Linked DNA regions of Homo sapiens: region 2 is linked to region 1. The links are contacts of gene promoters, found by promoter capture Hi-C in human tissues and cell types (Jung and others, 2019). All regions are on one chromosome and are shown on one strand. Each heading gives the region's core, a stretch centred on a gene start or on the middle of the fragment in contact. The rest is flanking DNA. Distances are from core to core; before and after follow the strand shown. Region 1 holds the start of CCSAP (centriole, cilia and spindle associated protein). Region 2 has its middle 100 kb from the start of RHOU.

Region 1 (4,804 bases), core at 875-3,374:
AGGAAGCACAGTGTCAGCATCTGCTTCTGGTGAGGCCTCAGGGAGCTTCCAATCATGGTGGAAGGGGAAGGGGAGCTGTCATGTCACATGGAGAGAGAAAGGGAGTGAGAGAGAGAGAGGAGGACATGCCAGGCTCTTTTTGAACAACAAGCTCTCATGCAAACTAAAAGAGTGAGAACTCACTCGTTACTGAAGAATGGCACCAAGCCATGCATGAGGGATCTGCCCCCATGACCCACACACTTCCCACTAGGCCCCACCTCCAACATTGGGGATCAATTTCAACTTCAGATTTGGAGGAATTATCCCAACTATATCAGGAGGTCATCTTGAAACTTCCAGCCCTGCTGTCTCTCCATCAGAATCCAACTGCGGAGGAACTGCCCAGCTAACCCTCAGAATCATAAGAAATAATAAATCTTAGCTGTTTTAAACCACTGAGTTTTGGAGTGAATTATGCAGCAAAAGCTGAAACCGATGGTGTCCTGCATGTCCCATAGAACTACATATAACCATTTCCCCACCTTATTCAATCTTTATTAAGGCTACTTTGGTTGCAAACATCAGAAACCAACCCCAGCCAGCTTAAACAAAAGGAAAGTGCATTAGAATGTCCCTAATGTAAGTCAAGGAACAGAAAATAAAGTTGGGAAGGGGAGAAATCATGGCGTCCGCGGACTCATTAGCAGCAGGGTATCCTGGAGTTTCCGTCCAGAAAACTGCCATTAACACAATCCCGTGCTAATGATTGGACTAGTAACTTCAAGTTTTCAGAGCAGACGGTCTGACCCGCCCCATTTGGGCCAGTAGCCGCCTCTGAATCATTTAGCTATGATGAGGTGGGCGGTGGTGGTGGGAGGCAGGATGCGGACACGTAGAAAGTAGGTGAATTCGTGGGAATCCTGACGTGGAAGCCGTGAGCGCTACTCACGGCCTGGGCTTGCTTTTTAACTGCTATATATATATTTAGATTTTCCAAAAGTTTTTTCCTTTCAAATCTTTTTGCAGCTACTGTATCAAGGCTCTTTTTTTAAGAAAGGGAAAATAGTGCAGGACCACTTCTGAAACTGTAACAAATGGGGCAACGTTGTATTCTTCTGTACAATGTAACTGGATCTGTGAAGGTTTTTATTTTTTATTTTTTATTTTTTTTGAGACGGAGTCTTGCTCTGTCGCCCAGGCTGGAGTGCAGTGGCGCAATCTAGGCTCACTGCAAGCTCCGCCTCCCGGGTTCACGCCATTCTCCTGCCTCAGGCTCCCGAGTAGCTGGGACTACAGCCGTTCACCACCACGCCGGGCTAATTCTTTTTATTTTTATTTTTTTAGTAGAGATGGGGTTTCACTGTGTTAGCCAGGATGGTCTCGATCTCCTGACCTCGTGAGCCACCCGCCTCGGCCTCCCAAAATGCTGGGATTACAGGCGTGAGCCACAGCGCTCAGCCGGATCTGTGGAGGTTTTATGAGCAAAAAGGGAAAACAGTGCGGGGCCACTTTTGAAACTGTAACAAATGGGGCAACGTTGTATACTTCTGCACAAAGTAACTGGATCTGTGAAGGTTTTATGTGTAAAAAGGGAAAAGAGTGTGGGGCCACTTTTGAAACTGTAACAAATGGGACAACTTTGTATACTTCTGCACAACGTAAGTTAATCTGTCAAGCTTTTATGTGCAAACGAATCTCTGAGCGAGTGAAATGGTTTTGATCAAAATCTAAAAGAATTTGGGGAGTGTAGATATAAAAGGGAGTTAAAGCCAGAGTAACAGGTGTTGTGAACACAGAGAGGAAGAACCGGTAGGTTTCGAGTGAGGACAGAGAGTGTCGCCCCCGGCCGCAGCCTGGGGGGGCTGCATATCTGGAGGGATCATCTCTTGCCCCTAACTGACGACTCCTGCAGAGTGACGCGTGCCTGGGACAGCGTCTGCTGGGACCAGGGTGGACGGGCACCTCAAATAAGTGGGCCAGGGACCTGGGCCTGGGCCCCTCGGACTGGCAGGCACGCCCGCACCCCCGCGCCTCGCGCTCTCTACGGAAGCAGCCGCCCCCACGGAGCGGGCGGAGGCCCGGGGGCCGGGAGCGCGCGTGGAGGCTCCGGGACTGAGGCGGCGCCACCGCCTCCCGCCTGCAGCTGGAGCGCGGGCCGCCGCGGCGACATCTTGCTCAGGAGGAAAGCGCGCGGGAGAGCGAGCTGCGCTTTAGCTGCTGCGCCACGCGCGCCTCGGGCCTGGGCGCAGAGGATCGGCCGGGCGCGGCGGGAAGGAGGTAAGGCAGCCCCGCGGGACCGCACGCCTAGCTCAGGGGACGCCTCCGGAGACCCCAGGACCACCCGATCACGGGCCCCGCCGCTCCCCTCCCTCGCTCCTCCTCCCGCTCAGCCCCAGTCTCCTGCGGTCCCCTCGCCCCAGCCCGCAGCCTCCCTGCCTTCCGCCCACTGAGCAGCCCTCCTCGGCGGCGCGCCCCTCGACCCCAGCAGCCCCGGTCCCCGCCTCTGCTCTTGGTCCCGGCCGCCGGGTGAGGCCGCCCCCGCCCCGCCCCCTCCCCGCCCTCGCCGGGACCCGCCCCCTGCTCCCGTCCGGGCGGGGCTCCGGGTTTAAACGTCGCGGCGGGCAGGGCCGGCGGAGGGGCGGGGCGGCCTCTGTGTCGTGTACCGGGTCCCGTAGGCTGCGGGCAGCGAGGAGCGGCTGGCGCTCGAGGCGGCGGACGGCACCATGTCCCCGGGGAGCGGGGTGAAGAGCGAGTACATGAAGCGCTACCAGGAGCCGCGCTGGGAGGAGTACGGGCCGTGCTACCGCGAGCTGCTGCACTACCGCCTAGGCCGCCGGCTGCTGGAGCAGGCGCACGCGCCCTGGCTCTGGGACGACTGGGGCCCGGCCGGCTCCTCGGAGGACTCGGCGTCGTCAGAGTCGTCGGGCGCCGGGGGCCCCGCACCCCGGTGCGCCCCGCCCTCGCCCCCGCCGCCCGTAGAGCCGGCGACCCAGGAGGAGGCGGAACGGCGGGCGCGCGGGGCCCCGGAGGAGCAGGACGCGGAGGCCGGGGACGCGGAGGCCGAGGACGCGGAGGACGCGGCTCTGCCAGGTACCCGGCCCGGAGGGGAGCGCGAGGGGCCTGCACGCAGGGACGGTTTGCTCTAAGCTCTGAGCAGCTGATCTCTTATTTCTTGCGCCACTCGGGGCTGGCTCTTCCTTTTTTTTTTTTCGGTTGACAGAATCCGTCTCTCTTGACAAAATAGGGAAGGTGGCAGCCTTTGCCACCCTTTATTTCCTTAATTAGGTGGCTTTCGGTCGAGCCAGCGGTGAACTCAATTGAAGCGCCGCTGGCTGAGTCTGGGGTCTTTCCTCGCGGGCCTCTGCGGCTTGGCAAACCTCTGAATCCCATCTTATTTCTTGGCGAACCACTGAGTCCCATCTGCTTATTTCTAGGCGCCCATTTTTGATCAGAGGAGCCCCAGCTTTAATCAGATTCTCAAAGGTAACCCAAAAGGTTAAGAACCACAGAGCTAAGCTTTGTCTGATGAATGGGGCCATTGTTTTCCGTATTAACTCCCCGACCTCGCTACGCTGTCCCTAAAGAATATTTTGCATTTGTTTACGTGGAGTGTTGAATAACTTGGCTGTGAGAGCATCTTTATAAGTGCTAGGGCCTCTCCCCTTCCGTCCCTCCCCATCCTCCCTCGCCTGTCCAGATCCGAAAGCGCCGGTGGCGCTGCGCGTGTTTTCAAGGCATGGCCCCTTCACCTTCTTTCCTGCCCAGAGGCTTGCAGGGCTGGGGACCCAGTTGAACGCCTCAGTACAGCCTGGAGTAACCAATGGTTCCTTCCAGATCACTGGATTTTAAAAAGGCTCGAGTGAGGAAAACATGGAAAATGTATTGGGAGCCTGTTAGACATTCAGTCACTGATCTGGGAATATGTATGTTGTCATTTAATATTCAAAACAATCCCAAAAGAGACCATGTTGTAATCTTTTTTTTTTTTTTTTTTTGAGACGGAGTCTCGCTCTGTGGCCCAGGCTGGAGCGCAGTGGCGCGATCTCGGCTCACTGCAACCTCTGCCTCCCGGATTCACGTCATTCTCCTGCCTCAGCCTCCCGAGTAGCTGGGATTACAGGCACGCGCCACCACGCCCGGCTAATTTTTGTATTTTTAGTGGAGACGGGGTTTCACCATGTTGGTCAGGCTGGTCTCAAACTCCTCACCTCGTGATCCGCCCGCCTCGGCCTCCCAAAGTGTTGGGATTACAGGAGTGAGCCACCATGCCCGGCCCTAATCTCAGTTTTATAGATGAAAAAACGGAAGCTCAGGATCAGTGACTTTATTCATTTATGTGTTTATTTTTGTTTACCCGATTGCAAGCCAATCAGACTCTTCCTGGCTTCTCTGTGAGAGGCTGAGGAGGAGATGAAATTTCGGCTATGAGCCGGGTTGCTTTGCTCTTGGTTTTACCATCTTCAGCTATTTTCAGCTCATCATCGGAGGCAGGGCTGCCTCCTCCCATCATGATGTTACTTGTGAATCCCCACAAATCCTGATGCTTCAGTGATCACTGCTAGAAATGCAAATAACAGAAGGTGGAGGGGGTAGGGAACATGCCTTCCAGATTATTCCTGTGGGTACTGATCTGCTAGCTAAATTGAGATGTACTTTATCAGGCTAAATGGCTTTTCTCTCCCCGATCTTTTATTGTTTGTGATGGAGTTGTCAAATATTTGCATGCAATATAAATACAATTTTTAGGCAGCGTTGTGATATGGATGGTGCCTGTATTTACCAGCTCAGGTAAGCTCTGAGTTCATGATTATTTTGGTTTCCT
Region 2 (4,804 bases), core at 817-3,316, 500 kb after region 1:
CAGGCGTGAGCCACCACGCCCAGCCCCATTTTTCATCTTTTCTAACCACATTTTTATGGTACCTTTTCTGTGTTTAGATATGTTTAGATTCACAAATACCACTGTGTTACGATTGCCTACAGTATTTGGTACAGGAGCAATAGGTTATCCCATATAGTATAGGTATGTAGTAGGTTATACCGTCTAGGTTTGTGTAAGTACTCTCTATGACGTTCAAACAACAATGAAATCACCTGATGCATTTCTCAGACTGCATCCCCATCATTAAGCAATGCGTGACTGTACTTCTTATTATTCCACAGTGGCAAAAATAAAGCAGAGCAAAACAAAACAGTGCGTGTGTGTGTGTGTGTGTGTATGCAAGTGTGTGCATCCAAGCCTCTGTGTCTGCACAGAGTAAGGGTCCGTGGCCCTCATCAATAGCATCTCATGGGCTTTGGATCAGGCATTTGTCATTTGTAATATGTCCCCTTCCATTCTAGTTCTTGCTCGGTAAACCAGTTCAAAAACGCTCATTTCTGCCTCATTCTTCATTCTCTAGCCCCATGCCTCTCCAGGATGGTCAGAGGCCACCTTAGATGGCCCCGGCCTGCCCTGTACTTAGCTTCCCTTCCTCTCACCCCATAAGCCCTCTGTGAAGAGCAGGCTCTCTCCCTCCGCTCCACTGCCCCAGCGTCTTAGCTGAGTTCATGACCATTTTCAAAAATAAACAACAAATATAGTGGGCTGTGGGGGAGACAACGCACTTTGGAGCAAGAGGATCATGAGTCATGGTTTGGCTATTTCTCTGAATTCTAGTCTTGATCAAGTTACTGAAGCTCCCTGTGCCTCACTTTTTTCATCTGTAAACTGGGACTGATGGTATGTATTATCTACCTGACGTGGTTGTTGAGGAGATAAGAGCAAATGGGAGCAGGCATACAAAAGCCCAGGAGTGACGGCAGATTGTGCTAGAGGGCTGGGACACAGCCACATGTCCCACAGGGCCCTGACCACAGCAGGGAATATAGACCCATGACCAGCCCCACACCCCAGAAGAAAGTCAGATGAAAACTGAGATCACTTATTTTCTAAGGTCCTTCTTTCCTTGGGGAGTGTCTATTTGCATGGCCAGTGTAAGAGTGAATGGATTCAAACAGGATAATGGGAACAACTGCGGAAGCTTGGTCCAAACAACTTGAGTTGACCTCCTTAAGTGTAGCCTCCTGTGGTGACAGCGCACAGGAAATGAGGGGAATTGTTGCCTCTTTGTCCAGTTAGAGCTGAGTTACAGCTCAGAGAACCCTTTAGAACCTTGGATGAAAGGAGCTAGACTTCTTTCTGCCCACGATTCTAGAACACCAACCCTGTGGACACACCTTTTTTAAAACCACCAAACAAAACCACATGGAGTGTTTATAACCAAGGAATAATGGCTCGGACCTCCCTTCCCTCAGATAGCAGGAGCTTCTTACGTAAGGGGCACTCGATTGTGTTCACAGAGCCAACAGCATGAGTCACTGACCCCTGAGGTCATTCTGGCTCTTTTCAAAGCAAACAGAGTCCTGTTTTATAGATACAGGTAAGAAGTGAAAGAAAAAAGAAAAAGACAAAAGTTAAGAATCTGAAGGCACCCAGTGAGCAGTGGGGACAAGCACCTTCTCTGTTCATTGCTGGAATCCTGGTCACCCTCGCAGAGGCAGCACATTAATGGTTCAAGGCCTTTGCACCAGTGTGTGATGTAATCGCCACAGCTCAGCAGATTGCTGAAGGAACCACCCAGCTGCTTCTTACAAGTACATACATATCCATGGTGAAAATGTTCTCTGTGCTTGTTCCCTGGGCACAATTCACAACAGAATTTAGAACTGTACTCAACATGCCTCCCTGCACTAAATATATGTCATTGCTAACGTGTGGCTCTGTCACAGAAGCCTCCGAGCTATTCAGAAACTCTCAGGAGGTCAGAAGGGCTACCTTTGTCCAGAGCTCTGGTTAAAGATTAACAGGCTGGAGTCTTTGGGCCTGGCAGGGCCTAATGTAGTCTGCTGTCACCTCTCCGGGGTGAAGGAGCTGTGCGGGGCAGGCCCAGTGCCCACCGGATGACAAGAACAAAAGCCACCACACCCAGAGGCAGGATCTAGCATCTTGACCCCAGCTCTCCCTGAACTTCTCGGGGCCTCTGTTTCCTCAGTTGTGACATAGTGGGGTTGGACCTGACTCCCAGGGTACATGACAGAGGAGGTTTGCAAGGGAGCTGGGCTGGGGTTTGGCCTGCTGCTGGGGCCCTGAGCCCTGACTGCCCCATGGAAGCACAGCAGTGCAGCCCACTTCTGCGTCTGTTGGGGCCTCCAGCTTTCCTCTTCAGGGTTGCTGAGGAAGTTCTGGCAAGTTCCATCCACAGGAAGGTGTGCTGGGGAGGGATAGCAAATGGCAGACGCAAACACTAAGCCACAGGAAGCTCCCCATGGGACCACCAGGTGAAAACTGAGCTTGGCCTTGCTCAGGGGAGCAACCTGACATGGGTTTTTTTTGTTTTTTTGGGGTTTTTTTTGAGACAGTCTTGCTCTGTCGCCCAGACTGGAGTGCAATGGCATGATCTTGGCTCACTGCAACCTCTGCCTCCTGGGTTCAAGCGATTCTCCTGCCTCAGCCTCCTGAGTAGCTGGGATTACAGGAGTGTGCCACAACTCCCCGCTAATTTTTGTATTTTTAGTAGGGACGGGATTTCACATGTTGCCCAGGCTGGTCTCAAATACCTGACCTCGTGATCCACCCACCTTGGACTTCCAAAGTGCTGAGTTTACAGGCATGAGCCACCACGCCCGGCCACCTGACATGGTTTTTATGTTCTGTGAGAAGTTTTGTTGTTTTCTTCTTTTTAACGAGAAGATTTATGAGAATTCCTGCATCTTAACATCTATCCTGACACCGAGATAGAAGGCATTCTGAAACTACACATAATCCAGAAATGTGAACTTCCACCTCGTACCCAGAGGCCTCGCCCAACATCAGGTGCTCTCAGGCTCCAGATCCATTTTCAGTCAGGAAAAGAAATGAAAATACAAAACCAAGCAATTGAGTGAGCCATCTCTTAAGGACTGAATTATCAGGCATCTATAATGCTCTTTACCCTTTTTTCTTTCCCAGTCAGCGATGCTGCTTACACTACACATAAGATAAATGCAGCCTGGAAATGCAGCCTTCCCATTTTTGTTCCAAGCAGGTGGAAGCTTCTCCCTGCTGCTGTGTGGTCCTGACACACATACCCCAGTTAAAAACAAATAAAAACAGAAATGGCCCCACCATCACTAAATAAAACACCATGTATCTCCTTTGGTCCAATCACCCCATCTCACGTGGCTGAGTGACGCTGGCAGAGCATGGACCCCTGGATGCTGGGTAACTGCAGCAGAGATTCTCTCCCTCTGTAAACAGGCTGCAACCCGAGGAATGAATGTGTGCCTTCTTCTAGGGCTGCTCCTACCCTTTGCTTGCACAGCCTCTCTCTGTGCTCTGGTTCATTACAATGCTGAAGTCACTCTGCTTATCAGGGACCTTTGAGCTGCAGAGCACTGGCAGAGGCTGTGAGGAGGGATAAAAGAAACAGAGGACTGTATTTCTGGCCCTGAGGAGTCTACCTTCTAAGGAAGAAGCAGGTAAAGTGCATATAAAAGATAATATGTTACTACATACATAAAGAAATGCAAACTCCTCTGCTGTGAACGATACTCTCAAGCCCTGGGGGCTATGGGATTAGTGAACATCGTCAACCAGGTAACTCAGGGAAAGCTTAGCCGGGTGGTGAATCCATCATTGATCCCACTAGCACAGATAGTCAGGTGCAGACATTCCAGTCAGTAAAGGCTTGCCCTCCAGTGTGCATGCTAGTGCAGGCATCCCAGGGTAGGAAACTGTAGGCAGGCTTGTTGCAGCAGTGTGGGAAAGAAACAGGGGTGAGCCACGCGGAAGGACTTACCCATGCAGAACATCAGCGCCCATTCACACATCTGTCCCTTTAACAAATGTGTATTGCCTGTTCTGACACTGACATGAGCATTCATTCATGCTGACAAATCTGGCTAATTATGATAGGCAATCAGCAACCAAGCAATGATACAGTCAGAGTAGCATTGGAAGAAGAGATTTTTGAGATGACATGAGGAAAGGCTTAGAGGATAAGAGAGGCTGGAAATGAAAACTCAGAAAATAACAAGACTTGAGTGGGTTTTATTTAGAAAAAATATTAATGACACAAAACTTACAGAATTTTGGCCTCATTGTTTTGTGGTCTTTTTAATCAGCTTAACATGTTAGAAATAGACACATAACATGCTACAAGAAAATAGAGAGGACCCGGGCTTGGTGGCAGGAGCCTATAGTCCCAGCTACTTGGGAGGCTGAGGTGGGGGATCGCTTGAGCCCAGGAGTTCAAGGCTGTAGTGTGAGATGATCATGCCTCTGAGCAGCCACTATACTTCAGCCTGGGCAACATAGTAAGACCCCATCTCTTAAAAGAAAAAAACAGAGCGTGAGGTAGGTATTCACTAATATTAGTTTATGAAAGGCATAATTTTTTCCAGCAAATTCAGTAAAACCTGGAGACCATAACCTGGGATATTACCCAAAATGGTCATAGATCCCGCACGCTGTCCAACCACCTACCAACTCCACCCTACAGTCTTCATAACAAGTGATATGGTTTGGATGTTTTGTCCTCTCCAAATCTCATGCGAAATGTGACCTCTAATGTTAAAGGTGGGCCTAGTGGGAGGTGTTTAGGTCATGGAAGTAGACCCCTCATTACTGTCTTGGTGCTATCCTC

Evidence for each region. Contacts are between HindIII fragments. The study calls those that stand out against the background at their distance.
Region 2: a contact is called between a fragment that was not itself captured here and the fragment with the promoter of CCSAP in region 1, in 2 of the 25 tissues and cell types used here (dorsolateral prefrontal cortex and hippocampus).

The regions. Positions count from the first base shown.
Region 1 is chr1:229,340,367-229,345,170 of GRCh38, reverse strand. CCSAP (centriole, cilia and spindle associated protein) reads left to right here and starts at 2,124. Exons shown (of 4, transcript NM_145257.5): 1 at 2,124-2,259; 2 at 2,658-3,072. The coding sequence starts at 2,706. RefSeq lists silencers at 675-969, 1,816-2,675, 2,876-3,075. The HindIII fragment of the contact is 5,214 bases long and covers 1-4,703 here.
Region 2 is chr1:228,835,309-228,840,112 of GRCh38, reverse strand. No RefSeq gene overlaps it. Among named protein-coding and RNA genes, the nearest start is that of RHOU, 100 kb to the right of the region's middle. The HindIII fragment of the contact is 4,581 bases long and covers 1-4,356 here.